Regions from separate parts of the Homo sapiens genome. Here region 1 is linked to region 2. Evidence: promoter capture Hi-C in human tissues and cell types (Jung and others, 2019). All regions are on one chromosome and are shown on one strand. Each heading gives the region's core, a stretch centred on a gene start or on the middle of the fragment in contact. The rest is flanking DNA. Distances are from core to core; before and after follow the strand shown.

Region 1 (6,848 bases), core at 1,980-4,479, 370 kb after region 2:
TACAAGGAATACAACCGAGGAGGACTGAAAATCAGTGACAACTGTCTATCTCAAGAAGTTAGAAAAGGAACAGCATATTGAATAAGGACAAAAATAATAAAGATGGGAGTAGAAATTAGTGAAACAGGGAAGAGACATATCATAGAGTTGATCAAAGGCAAAACTAATATCAGAAATGAAAACGGGGTCTCCGTATAGAATCTTAACATCTTTATGTCAATAAATTGGAAAACGTATATGAAAGAGTCAAAATCCTTAAAAAAAAAAACCCCAATGTATTAAAACCAATACAAGAGAAATAGAAAATCTGAGTATCAACAACCTTACAACTGTGAAAGAAACTGACTCTCTAATCAGACTATCATACAAGAAGAACTTGAAGCCCAGATGGCAACACTGATGAATTTTACTCATCACTTAAGGAAGGAATAAGAGCAATTTTATACAGTCTCTTCCACAGAAGTTTCTCAACCAGTTTTATCAGGCAAGCACAGCACTGATGCCAAATCTGACATGCACATTATAAAAAAGTATTTATATGATAGTCTCCATTTATAAACATACATAAAAATTCTAAAAAATAATAACTAATTAAAGCCAGTGATATGTATTTAATAAAAATAACATGTCCTGACCTAAGTGTATTTATTCCATGAAAATTTAATGATATAATTTACCACATTAACATAAAAGAGTATAATTATGTGATTAGCCAAATACATGTAGAAAAATATTTTGATAAAGTCAACATTATGTTAAAAAAAAAATCAAAGATCCCAGCAAACAAAATAAAGGTGCTTCTGCTGGGCATGGTGGTGTCAATCTACAGTACTCCCAGCTACTCTGGAGGTTGAGGCAGGAGGATCACTTGAGCCCAGGTGTTCAAATCTATCCCGAACAACATAGTGACACCATGTCTCTTAAAAGAAAAAAAAAAAGAAAAAAAAAGAAAAAAAAAAGGGCACGTTTGTAATGTGATAGGAATATGTACAAAAAACCTATAGCAAACATAATGGTATGATGGTAGAAGCTACCCCCTAAGATTAGGATAATACCTAGTATTACCATTTCTATTGAACATTGAACTAGAGATCCTACCTGATCTCATAGAATAAGTAAAATGTTTAAGAATTAGAATAAAGATTAAAAAAACTAATTCCCAGGTGATATAAAAGTATACAGAGAACACAAAAAAATAATGTATAGAGATAAGCTCTATAAATTAGTGAATAAATTCAGCAAGGTTACTGGATATAACTTCAATTTTTAAAAGTCGTATTTCTGTATATAATCAACAAATAAAAAGAAAATGAAAATTTCAAAACAATGCCATTTACCATATTAACAGCATAAAACTGCACTAAACATATCAAACCCCTTGGAAAGATGTCCAAGTCCATAACACAGAGAAGTAGAAAAAAAACACTGAGAGAAACTCAAGAATCCTAATATATATGAAAGAGTAATCTATGTTCATATATTAGAAGATTCAGTATTATAAAGATACCATTTCTCTCCAGATCAATTTATATATTCAACACAAGGCCAATCAAAAACACAGTAGGGATTAGCGTGTTGGTGTGAGTGAAAAAGGACAAGATGATTTTAATGTTTATATTGAAACAGGTCAAGAACAGCCAAGACATTGCTGAAGAACAACACAGAAAATTCACACCACTGGACAGTAAGACTTAGTATGAAAAAAAATTAGAAATCGTGACAATGGCACAAGGATAGAAAAAAAGACTAATGGTCTCTTTGAAAGGTCATTTAATGCAAAAAAAATAAGTGTGTTGTGATTTCATAACATGTAGAAGTAAAATATGACCACAGCAGCACAAAGCCTGGGAGAAGGGAAACAGAAGGACGCTCTTGCGAGGTTCTTATATGTGAAACTGTTATTATTTGAACACAGACTGATATATCAAAGAAGGATATTATAAATTCTAGCAAATCATTAAAATAATAAAAACAAAGAGGTAAACAAGATAATAGTGGAAATACAATGGAATCATTAACATGGGGCCAAGAGAAAAATAAAGCAAGATGGTAGTTTTAAACCAAATAATATTGACAGTCATAATAAATAAAAATGATGTAAATCAGTGCTATACAACAGAAATTTGTTATGAGGATTGAAATGTAGCTAATATGACTGAAGATTTGAATTTTTAATTTTAACATGTGGCTAGTAGCAACTGTACTAGACCGTGGAGGTCTAAATAATTAAAAGGCAGAGACTGTCAGATTAGATATAAAAGCAGAGCCTATAATTCTATCTACAAGAAAGGCACTTGAAAAATACAGCTATAAATAGGTTAAATGTAAATGCATGGGAAGAGATAATCAAATAGAATGCCAAAGAGCTTAAATTAATATCAGACCAAGTAGAATTCAGAACGGCACTCTTACCAGGGACAAAAGAGAGACATTTCATGACGTTTGTAAAAGGGTCATCAAGAAAATCTAACAATGACGCCCGGTGAGGTGGCTCATGCCTGTCATCCCAGCCCTTTGTGAAGCCACAGCAGGAGGATGGCTTGAGCCCAGGGGTTTGAGACCAGCCTGGGCAGCAAAGTGACCCCAGCTCTACAAAAAATGAAAAAAATTAGCCAGATGTGGTGAGTACACCTGTGGTCCTATTATTCAGGAGGCTGAGGTAGGAGGATCACTTGAGTCTGGGAAGTTGAGGCTGCAGTGAGCTGTGACTGCACCACTGCACTCTAGCCTGACAGATGGAGCAAGACCTTGTTTCTGTTTATGTATATATAACACAGATACATTTAAGAGATATATAATTCATACATATAATATATATAATACATGACATGTATGTTATATAAAAATATATAAAAACAATGCTACATGCATATACACTCAATAACGAAAGCTTCGAAACATGAAGCAAAACCTGATTAAAAACAGAAATAGACAAATCTTTAATTAGAGCTGCTTCAAATACTCTTTTACTGCAAAATAAGAGAAAAAAGTTAGTAAAAACACTGGAGATAGGAGCAGTGCTATTAAATGAGCTAATTAACGTTTACAGAATACTCCACACATCAGTAGCGGAATGCACATTCTTTACTAGTGCACATGGAACATTCACAAAGACAGACCACATCTTAGGCTAGGAAACAAATGTCAGATATAAAAGGTTTGAAATAATACTGAGTATGTTCTCTGACCACAATAGACTTTTTTTTTTTGACACGGAGTTCTCACTCTGTCATTCAGGCAGGAGTGCAGTGGTGCCATCTCGGCTCACTACAACCTCTACCTCCTGGGTTCAAGCAATTCTCCTGCCTCAGCCTCCCCAGTAGCTGAGATTACAGGTGCCTACCACCATGCCCAGCTAATTTTTGTATTTTTTTTTTTTTTTTTGAGATGGAGTCTTGCTCTGTCACCAGGCTGGAGGGCAGTGGCGCAGTCTCGGGCTCACTGCAACCTCCGCCTCCAGGGTTCAAGCGATTCTCTTGCCTCGGCCTCCTGAATAGCTGGGATTACAGGCGTGTGCCACCACGCCCAGCTAATTTTTGTATTTTTAGTAGACACGGGGTTTTACCATGTTGGCCAGGATGGTCTCGATCTGTTGACCCCATGATCTACCCGCCTCGGCCTCCCAAAGTGCTGGGATTACAGGCGTGAGCCACTGAGCCCAGCCAATTTTTGTATTTTTTAGCAGAGACAGGGTTTCACCATGTTGGCCAGGCTGGTCTTGAACTCCTGACTTCAAGTGATCCACCCGCTTTGGCCTCCCAAAGTGCTAGGATTATAGGTGCGAACCACCGCACCTGTACCCGCAATAGATTTAAGCTAGAAATCGATACTTGAAAAATTTCTGGAAAATACCCAAAGAATTGGGAATTAGAAAATATATTTCTAAGACACCAATGCTCAAAGAAGTCACAAGAGAAATGACAGGGGCAACTAAATGAAAATGAAAACACAACATATCAAAATCCATGAAATTCACCTAAACCATCACTTAAAGGGAAATTTACAGTTCTAAATGCTCAGATAACAAAAACTGGTTCTTTGAGAAGACGAATAAAATTGATAAACTTATAGCTGGACAGTTCAGAAAAAGAAGTGAGAAGGCTCAAATCAGCACTATCAAAAATGGAAGGGGGGTATTGCTACAGATCCCAAAACATTAAAAGGATAAGAAGTGGATATTATAAACAACTTTATGCCAATAAATTAAAAAAAACAGAGATACGATGAACAAATTCCTTGAAGGACACAACTACCAACTTACTCAAGAAGAAATAGTTGCCTGAATAAGCCTTTACAGTATTTACTAAAGGAATTGAATCTGCAGTTACATATTTTCAGACAAAGAAAACTCCCTGCTCAGATGGTTTCATCTGTGAATTCTACCAAAACTTTAAGGAAGACGTAATACCAATTCTACACAAACTCTTCCAAAAAAGTAGAAGAGAAGACATTCCTCAACTCATTTGATGAGGTCCTGACACCAGAACTAGAGAAAGACTATTACAGAAAACTACATGGAGAGAAAAATCCTTGAAAAAATTTTAGTAAATCAAATCCAGCAATATATAAAAAATAATAATGCATAATGACCAAGAGAAATTTATCTTAGGAGTGCCAGATTGGTTTAATATTTCAGTATTAAACTCTCAATGGTTGTAATGCACCATTTTAACAGAAAGAAAAAGAATATGAACAGCTCAAAATATGTAAAATACCATCTAATAAAATTCAACACAATTCATGACAAAAAATCTCATTAATTCAGGAATAGAAGGGAACATCTTCAACCTGATAATGGCATTTATAAAAGACCTAGAGACAGCCATCAAATTGAATGGTAAAAGACTGAATGAATGGTAAAAGACCTACATTAACGGTGAATATATCATGTTCCTGGATCAAAAATGGAATAGTGTTAAGATGACAATTCTTCCCAAATTGGTCAAGAGATTCAATGTGTTCCCAATCAAGATCTCACCTGGCTCTTTTGAGGAACTGGGCACTGTGATTCTAAAATTTATATAGAAATGCAAAAGACCCAGAGGAGCCAGACATGAAAAACAAGAATAGAATTAGATGACATACACTATCTGATTCCAAGACTTTCTATACATCTACAGCAATGAACACAATATTGTACTGGCTTGAGGACAGATGAATAGACCAATGGGACAGAAAAGGAAATCCAGAAATACACCCATACACATATATAAACTCATAGGTGCCAAGGTGATTTAATTCAACAAATGCTGAATTCAACAAAAATGTTTAATTTTGATCAACTCCAGCTTCTTTTTATGCTTTGTTTTTTGGTGTGTCCTATATGTCCAATGTTGTTCTAGAACTTTTATAGCCTTATTAAATTTTGGTCTGTGATCTGTTTCTACTCGTTTACTTTGTGAGGTAAGGGTCAAGAATCTTTTTTTTTTCCATATGTCAGTCTAATCATCCTAGAAACAAATGACATGTATGTGTGTGTGTATACTAATTCCATTTATATAAAGTTCAAAACCATAGTGGGAGATTAAAAAATAACCTTTTAAAATTTAATTTTGTCATTTGCTAAGAAATAACAAATGCTTTCCATACGACATACACCATTCTAAGCAATTTTTATGTGTTTGAATTCAATTTCACAACAACCCTACAGATTAGATGCCAAGGAGGATTCCCAAATGTGCAAATGTAGGCACAAAAAAGTTAAATAACTTGTCCAATGCCACAGAGCAACTAAGTGCTAGAGCTGGGAGGTGAAGGCAGACAGCCTGGCTCTGAACACTATGGCACATTGACTCCCAATGAGAGAACTTTAATGGAAAGATGGAGGGAGGGCAAATGTGCACAAGGAGGTGGGAGGAGGAGGATGGCAAAATTCCCATCTTCCAAAGAAAAAGAATCAGTAGATACTGCCTTAAACAGGAGGCGGGGAGGAGAGAGGGATCAACAACTACCAGTACATGCTGAGTACCCCTTATCTGAAATGCTGACCAGAAGTGTTTCCGATTTTGGAAAAAAAAAAAGAAGGGTTTCTGATTTAGGAATTTTTCAGAATTTGGAATATTTGCATTATATCAGTTCAGCATTTCAAATCCAAAAATCCAAAATACTCCAATGGGCATTTCCTGTGAGTGTCATACTGTTGCTCAAAAAGTTTTAGATTTTGGAGCATTTTGTATTTGGGATACTCAACCTGTGCATGCATGTTACGAAAAAATTTGGAGAAAAAATTAGAAAGAATAGCTAAATGTGAAGGCAACAGTAAGCCTCCAGGGAATGGCTCAGAGTAGGGCACTGTTATACAACACTTAGCCTCGTAACACTATTTCAGGTTTTAAAAACCATATACACATTGCTTTGATACAAATAATTTTAAAATTTTAAAAAGATTTAAACATTTACAAAAGAATAGGCAAAATGCTGTGGCTCATGCCTAATCCTAGCACTTTGGGAGGCCAAGGCAGGAGGATCACTTGAGGTGAAGAGTTCGAGACCAGCCTGGGCAATGCAGTGAGACCTCATCTCTACAAGAAATAAAAAGAATTAGCAAGGCATGGTGATGCGTACTGCTCGTGCTATTGTTGTCCTAGCTACTCAGGAGGCTGAGCCAAGAAGATCGCTTGAGCTTAGGAGTTTGATGCTGCACTGAGCTCAAAGTGTCCCTCAGCCTGGGTGACAGAACAAGACCCTGTCTCTAAAAAATAGAAATAAAAAATTAAAAAAGAATAATAGGCCAGGCGTGGTGGTTCACGCCTGTAATCCCAGCACTTTGGGAGGCCAAGGCAGGCGGATCACGAGGTCAGGAGATCAAGACCATGGTGAAACCCCGTCTCTACTAAAAATACAAAAAA
Region 2 (7,330 bases), core at 539-3,038:
ATGTGGACACCTCCACCGGCCCGTTGTCTTGTCCCACCAGGAAAAACTCCACGGTGACCGTCTTCTTCTCCAAGCGCCGAGAGGCACCTGAGCGGTGGGTGAACAGCGGGAAGGCCCGGGCCAGGGCACAGGCGGAAGCAAAGACCTCCGGCTGCTCGCAGACCATCTGTGGCACATAGGGAGACGGCGTGAGGGGTGCAAGGGCCGCCACCAGGGAGTGCAGGGAGCTGCTCTTTGAACGCCTCCGGAACATCAGCTCCCTGGCAGGTGACATCTAGACAGAGATGTCCCACAGCAGCCGCCACCCCATCCCTCAGGTCATCCCCGGAACCATGGGACCACCATTGGTCATGCTCCAAGAGAAATAACACATTGGCCACCAGATGTCAACAGCCTGACCAGCCATGAAAATGAGGGACAGAGGGACAGACACAAAGTGGGCCTCAGGAAATCTAGGTTTGAGTCTCTGATTTGCCACCAAAACTGATCTGGGGCAAATCCCCGCGTCTCTCTGGACCTGTTTCCCTGTCTACAGAGCAGGGATGATAACGTCCACAGCCCTCTGGGCGTGCGCTGCAGTCTGAGCAGGGCTGTGAGCTCCCCAGGCCCGAGCTCACCGCTGCCCGACTAGGAGCACCGTGGCTGCCTCCTCTCGAAGCACTCACCACAATGCAGCGATGCGCTCCGGGCGGCAGGCAGGTCCGCACCAGCCGCGTGATGAAGTGGGCGGCCGAGGGGCTGTTGTGCCGGCTCACCCTGCAGGGCAGGGCAGCCACGGTGGCGTAGTTCAGGTAGAGGGGACAGCTGTCCGTGGGGTTGGGGTTGAGCGTGCTCAGGGCAGCCTGCCAGAGCTAGATCAGAAGGGAGAGACAAGACACAGAGGCTTCAAACAGCGGCCACGTGCCAGGAGGCCCTGCCCTGCAGCCACGGCCACAACCACTCCTGCAGTCCTGGAAGGGCACTGCGCAGCTCCCGGCCACCGTTTTCCCATCCTTAGGGAGATGTGTCGCCTCTCTGCAGAGCTAACTGTCTCTAGGCTGGCTCGCATCCCCCTGGTGGGATGAAGCCACCAAGCCTGGAAGGGCCAGGCTGGGGGCTGCTTTGCTTCCAACACTCGGATAGGGCTTAGGCGGCTTCCACCAGAGAGGGGGCAGGGGCCAGGTGTCCCCAAGGAAAGGCAGCTGGGGACACTGCCATGGGAACTTCTGGAAGCCAGGGCCTGTCGCCAGGCGGGGCCGACGCGCGGCCCTGGGAGCGGCCACGTCTCCCCCCCCGCCGTCCGCAGGTGTCGCGGCCTCGCGGGGCGCAGGGCTGGGCTGACAGGAGGACCACCGCGCCGCACCGGCGACGGGGCCTGGGGCTGGGCCTCCGCGGGCGAGGACTGGCCTGGCGGCTGAGCCCTTCAGGGAGGCGGCCCGGCCTCGTTGGGCCCGGCCCGGCGGCGGCGGGGGTGCGGCGGGCGAGGCGGGGCCTCCGCGGGCCGCCCGGGCCTGGGCTTCCGCGGCGCGGGTCGCATGGCGGCCGGCGGCCCGCTCACCTCCTCGGTGACCCGGGGCTGCAGCTTCCCGCGGACGTGGCTCCAGGGCACGCGGTGCAGGTGGTGCAGCTGCCCGAGCAGCAGCAGGGGCCGGCTCTGTGGGTCCGAGTCCCCCGCGCTCGCCTGGAACTGCAGCCCCACGTTCGCCATCTTCCTGCCGGCCCACGCCCCGGCCCTGCCCGGCCCGGCCCGGCCCGCCGCTCGGCCCCCTTCGCCCCGCTCCGGCCCGGCCTCGGCACCGCCCCGGCCCTGCCCGGCAGCCCGCGGGCCCCGCCTCCCCCGCCGCTCCGGGCTGCTCGCGAGACGTGCAGGGCCCGCCCGGGGCGCGAGGGGGCGCCGGCCAGGCCGGGCGGAAGGGTGCGGGCAGGCCCGGCCGGGCAGGCCCGAAGCCGGCCCCGAGCAGGCCCTGCCGAGTAGGGCCCGCGCGCCCGGCCTCCAGCGGCGCCGCCCCTGGGCCTAGCGGCCCTGCCCAACACGCGGGGCGACGTGGCCCGCCAGGCAGCGCCTCCCGGACGGGCCTGGCCTCCAGTGGGGCCTGGGCCGACGTAGGCCCAAGCCCACCCGACGCAGTTCCGCCCGGTCAGGCCTCAGGCTGGCCCCAAGCAGGTCCCCCGAGGTCCCTTAGCAGCTGCTTTTGATCCCCAGGGACCCCGCACCCTGGCCACCCATCAGTTAGGCCGGAGGGGCCCAGTGACTCTTGGACCTGAGTCAGGTCCTTTTGTCCCACTGCCTGGCATGGTGGGTACAGCGTGGACGGTCACTTCCTCCTCACTTAATCGGAGGTTCCCTGGCGTTTATCAGACCCCGCTCTGCCAGGCACTGCCCTGGATGTGAGAGGGTGACAGGGACGTGGCTTTCCATCCAGGGCACTGCTGCTGGGATGGCCAGTTACAAATCCAGGCACTGCCTGGCTGCATGGGGGGCCTTCCCGCCCACCCCTTTGCAAGAAGGGTCATCTGGCACAGTCTAAGCAGGAAAGGAGGGACGAGATGAGACGAGGAAGGAGCAGGGTGACCTGAGTCACCTCAGTCGCCTTACAGGGGAGGAAAGGCCATCGGGGGTGTGGGGCAGGAGCCGGGTGGTGGAGGAGCCAGGGGTGAGCCTTGAGTGGATGGTGGAGGCGGAGGGTCCCACCCACAGGGTCAGATGCAAGGGTCAGGGAATGACGATGCATTGGGGAAGCTCCACCCAGGAGTCATTTAAAAGCAAAAATCTGTTACCCAACATCCTGATTGCTCAAGGGCCTTTGGTTGGTACCCTCCTCTGTTACCTCCATGTAGTTCCATAAGCCACTCCTGTTATTTTGAGTTTCTTCTTCATAACCAGCCTAAAAATGAAAAAAAAAAAAAAAAAAAAAGAAAAGAAAAAAAGAAAAAAAAGCACTGTCAACTCCCTGGCGTGGTGTGAGAGGTTTTCCACCACTGACCTCCCAGCTGGCCCCCTAGCTCCCTAACTTGTAGCCCCGGGAGCCACAAGCCAGGCTTTCACCTTCCCTGTCCACAGGCTCCAGGTCTGTCTGCTCAGCTCTGAGCCATGGTCCCTGGCCCCTTGGAAACACCACAGACTAGAGCTTCAGCATCCTGAAGGCAGGTCTTTTTGACTTTTTGTTGTTTTTTTTTCCTCCAGTTCCTGGCACAGAGCAGGCACTCAAAAAAAAAAAAAAAAAAAAAAAAAAAAAAAAAAAAAGCTGTTGAATGACTGAAAGGCATTCCTTTGAAACCCTCAGCTTTCCCGACATAAAAGTCAACGCTAATTGGATCTTATTTTCTTCAAAAGATTTTACAGCAGCTGAATGTTTTCACACATTGGTAAAGGGTACTAACAGTGTGTATGAAGATCTCTCACTCTTTTTTCTGTTTGCAAATACGTTGCAGACAGGCACACGGCACTCCAGAGGACTGAGACAGCTGGAGGATCTTCCTAGAGGGTGAGAGACTAAGGCCATGCCCTGACAGATGTAATAGGACTTCCACAGGCGAAGAGATTGAGAAAGAAGGCCTTCCACGTGGGAGAAGTCCTGGGAGGAAACACAGACGCAGAATATGTCCAGCAGGCTCTGAAACCTGTGTGGTTAGAACAGAAGGTTCCTGGAAAATAGGAGTGGGTGAGGAGATCGACTGGGGAGCCTGGCTCACTCTATAGAATTTTGCAAACTGAAGAGGGATCCAAGAAGCATTTCAGAAAGCCAGATCTAGCAGGTTTGTGTACAAGGAGTTGGAAATGAGATAAACTGTTGGTGGAGAGGTCATTTTGGAGATGTTTTTCTTTTAGAATTCTTTCATATTTAAGAATAGACTGAATAACCCTGACAGTCCCCAGAAAGGATGAACAAAATGATTCAATTCAACCAACATTTGTTGAGCACTTAGTGTACACAAAGCAAGAGAAAACGTTAGATGCTTGTTAAAAGCAAATATTGGTGATTCTGGTTTTAAGCCACCCCCGAATTGAAGAAATCCAAACTAAACAGAACGCTAAGGAATTATTCCACTTCAAATGCCTGCCAATTTCCTCAAGATTCAGCTTGTGACAGATACAAATACATTCCAGGAAAGTACTTTCCCTTTTTCACTGCTGACTTTACAGACTTTAACATAAATAAGACAGGCAGCACTTTGTTTAGATAAATTTTTATGAAGGTATTAATCCATGGCTTACTATATATTTCACTGTCAATGAAAAATTCAACTCTATTTAATTTTCCTTAAAAAATGAAAGTTTAAAACAAATTACCAGATCTTTAATGCAACCCAAAAATCAACTTATGTTTTTGATGGCTTGAAACCTATTCCACATTCAATTGGATGTTCAGACTTTGCTCCAAAGTTGAAGAAAAGATTAAAAACTTCTGGGACAAATCAGAATAAAGCTCCTAGAACTTACTAGGATGTTTTTTGGTACAGTTCACATTCTAGGACACATTTCTGAAATCCTATCTTGTAAGATGGCTCTAGGTGTTTGAAATCTACATTTATATGTTAATTTCATGTCAGACTTCACCCCTATAAAACCTAATGCCTGCTTAGACTCAGCTGATTGCCACGAGGCTCTCAGATTCCATTATATCCGATACTTCAAAGAAACATTTCCTCGGTGCATCTGCTTCGTATTTTCTAGCATTTTCATTCATTCATTCATTTGACATACATTTGTTGAACATCAGTTCTGAAAAGCTACAGGACCCGTGAGGCTTTGGGGACGCAATAGCGTGTGTGTGTGTGTGTGTGTTTGTGCATGTGCACGCATATGTGTGTGTGGCCAGGAGGAGGAAGGGGAAGCAAGTAGAACAGTAAAATCCAGAGATCCAGTCACTGGGAGAAGATTGAGTTAGGGAAGGCCCCTTGGACTACGATGAGACTTTTGAGTTGGGCCTGGAGGGATCGGTTAAAGTGTGTCAGGCAGTCTGATCCCTGACCAAGGAATTGTTCATGCAAAGGCCTGAAGTAGTAAAGGACATGGTTCATTCTGGCACTGTCAAAAGCTCATGTGGAACCAGGCCCCGTGGCTCAGGCCTGTAATCCCAACACTTTGGGAGGCTGAGGCAGGTGGATCACTTGAGGCCAGGAGTTTGAGACCAGCCTGGCCAACATGGTGAAAACCCATCTCTACTAAAACTACAAAAATAAGCTGGGCATGGTGGTGCATGCCTGTAATCCCAGCTACTCGGGAGGCTGAGGCATGAGAATCACTTGAACCTGGGAAGCGGAAGTTGCAGTGAGCCGAGATCACGCCACTGCACTCCAATCTGCAGGACAGAGACTCTGTCTCTACAAAAAAAAAAGAAAGAAAAAGAAAAGCTCCTGTGCCAGATATAAAGTGCGCATAAAATATATACTGACCTTGCAGGTTGTACTTGACCTTGCAAGTAACTGGAGACCAGTGGAAGTGCCTCAGGCAGGCCTGAAGTGGAAGCAAGGAAGGGCTCCTTCCTGCTTCAGAATGACCTGCTCGTGAGCCCAGAGGAAGCAGAGGCAGGCTCAGCTCCAAGGACCTCCCTGAGCAGCTGGCTGAGAAGTGAGCCCACAACCAGTGAAAACTGTGACAGCTGCACGACCGCCTTGAATGCTGCCCTGCGTTGTGGATGTTTGTGCTGTCCCTTGCTGCAACCTGAGTGCCTGCACAGCAGGGAGGGCCTCCGTTGCCTTTTGCAACTGGCACCAGACATGCCACCTAGATTTGCACTAAATGTTCCCTGAAGGGAGGAAAGAGAACTCGTTGCCATGAAAACACATTTCTCTAGAAACTTTTTTGAAAAGTTCATTAACTTTTGGAAAAGATGAAAAACTAGTATAATGAACACTTGTATACCCTTCACCTAGATTCATACATATATATACAGATACACACACACACACACCACACACACACCACACACACATACACGCACACACCACACACACATACACACACACCACACACACACACACCACACACACCACACACACACATACACATATATACGCACATACACACATGTATACACACACAGACACACACATACACACAAACACACACATAGACACACACACACATAGACACACACACACACATATATACACACATACAGGCACACCTCGGAGATATTCTGGGTTCAGTTCCAGACCGCCACAGTAAAGTGAGGTATGCCTCTATATACACAAACATGCGTATATGTGTATGTGTGTGTATGTATATATGTATATGTATATGTGTATATGTATATGTATGTATGTACACATATTTTTCCCTGTACCATTTAAAGTAAGTTGTATACACCCCTACCTCATTGTGTATCTCTTAAGAACAAGGACACCAGCCGGGCGTGGTGGCTCACGCCTGTAATCCCAGCACTTTGGGAGGCCAAGACGGGCAGATCTCCTGAGGTCAGGAGTTCAAGACCAGCCTGGCCAACATGGCAAAAACCCGTCTCTACTAAAAACACAAAAATCAGCCAGGCGTGGTGGCATGCACCTGTAATCCCAGCTACTCGGGAGGCTGAGACAGAAGAATCGCTTGAACCTGGGAGGCGCAGGTTGCAGTGAGCCGAGATTGCGCCATTGCACTCCAGCCTGGGCAACAGGAGTGAAACTCCATCTCAGAAAAAAAAAAAAAAAAAAAAAAGGAATTAAACTACCATCAGAGTGAACAGGCAACCTACAAAATGGGAGAAAATTTTCGCAACCTACTCATCCGACAAAGGGCTAATATCCAGAATCTACAATGAACTCAAACAAATTTACAAGAAAAAAACAAACAACCCCATCAAAAAGTGGGTGAAGGACATGAACAGACACTTCTCAAAAGAAGACATTTATGCAGCCAAAAAACGCATGAAAAAATGCTCATCATCACTGGCCATCAGAGAAATGCAAATCAAAACCACAATGAGATACCATCTCACACCAGTTAGAATGGCAATCATTAAAAAGTCAGGAAACAACAGGTGCTGGAGAGGATGTGGAGAAATAGGAACACTTTTACACTGTTGGTGGGACTGTAAACTAGTTCAACCATTGTGGAAGTCAGTGTGGCGATTCCTCAGGGATCTGGAACTGGAAATACCATTTGACCCAGCCATCCCATTACTGGGTATATACCCAAAGGACTATAAATCATGCTGCTATAAAGACACATGCACACGTATGTTTATGGCGCCATTATTCACAATAGCAAAGACTTGGAACCAACCCAAATGTCCAACAATGATAGACTGGATTAAGAAAATGTGGCACATATACACCATGGAATACTATGCAGCCATAAAAAATGATGAGTTCATGTCCTTTGTAGGGACATGGATGAAATTGGAAATCA

The links. The method cuts DNA at HindIII sites, captures the fragments that hold promoters and counts their contacts. A contact is called where the count stands out against the background at its distance.
Region 1: a contact is called between a fragment that was not itself captured here and the fragment with the promoter of NPEPL1 in region 2, in 1 of the 25 tissues and cell types used here (dorsolateral prefrontal cortex).

Annotation. Positions count from the first base shown.
Region 1 is chr20:58,317,726-58,324,573 of GRCh38, reverse strand. The region is part of intron 2 of RAB22A (RAB22A, member RAS oncogene family); the gene reads right to left. Among named protein-coding and RNA genes, the nearest start is that of RAB22A, 11 kb to the right of the region's middle. The HindIII fragment of the contact is 9,624 bases long and covers 1-6,848 here.
Region 2 is chr20:58,687,258-58,694,587 of GRCh38, reverse strand. It overlaps NPEPL1 (aminopeptidase like 1), which reads right to left and starts at 1,788. Exons shown (of 12, transcript NM_024663.4): 1 at 1,538-1,788; 2 at 666-851; 3 at 1-166. The coding sequence starts at 1,687. STX16-NPEPL1 (STX16-NPEPL1 readthrough (NMD candidate)) reads right to left here. Exons shown (of 23, transcript NR_037945.1): 9 at 3,361-3,554; 10 at 3,026-3,183; 11 at 2,808-2,864; 12 at 666-851; 13 at 1-166. RefSeq lists enhancers at 1-209, 1,650-2,355 and silencers at 1,273-1,362, 1,383-1,462, 1,493-1,652, 1,663-2,152. The HindIII fragment of the contact is 15,721 bases long and covers 1-7,330 here.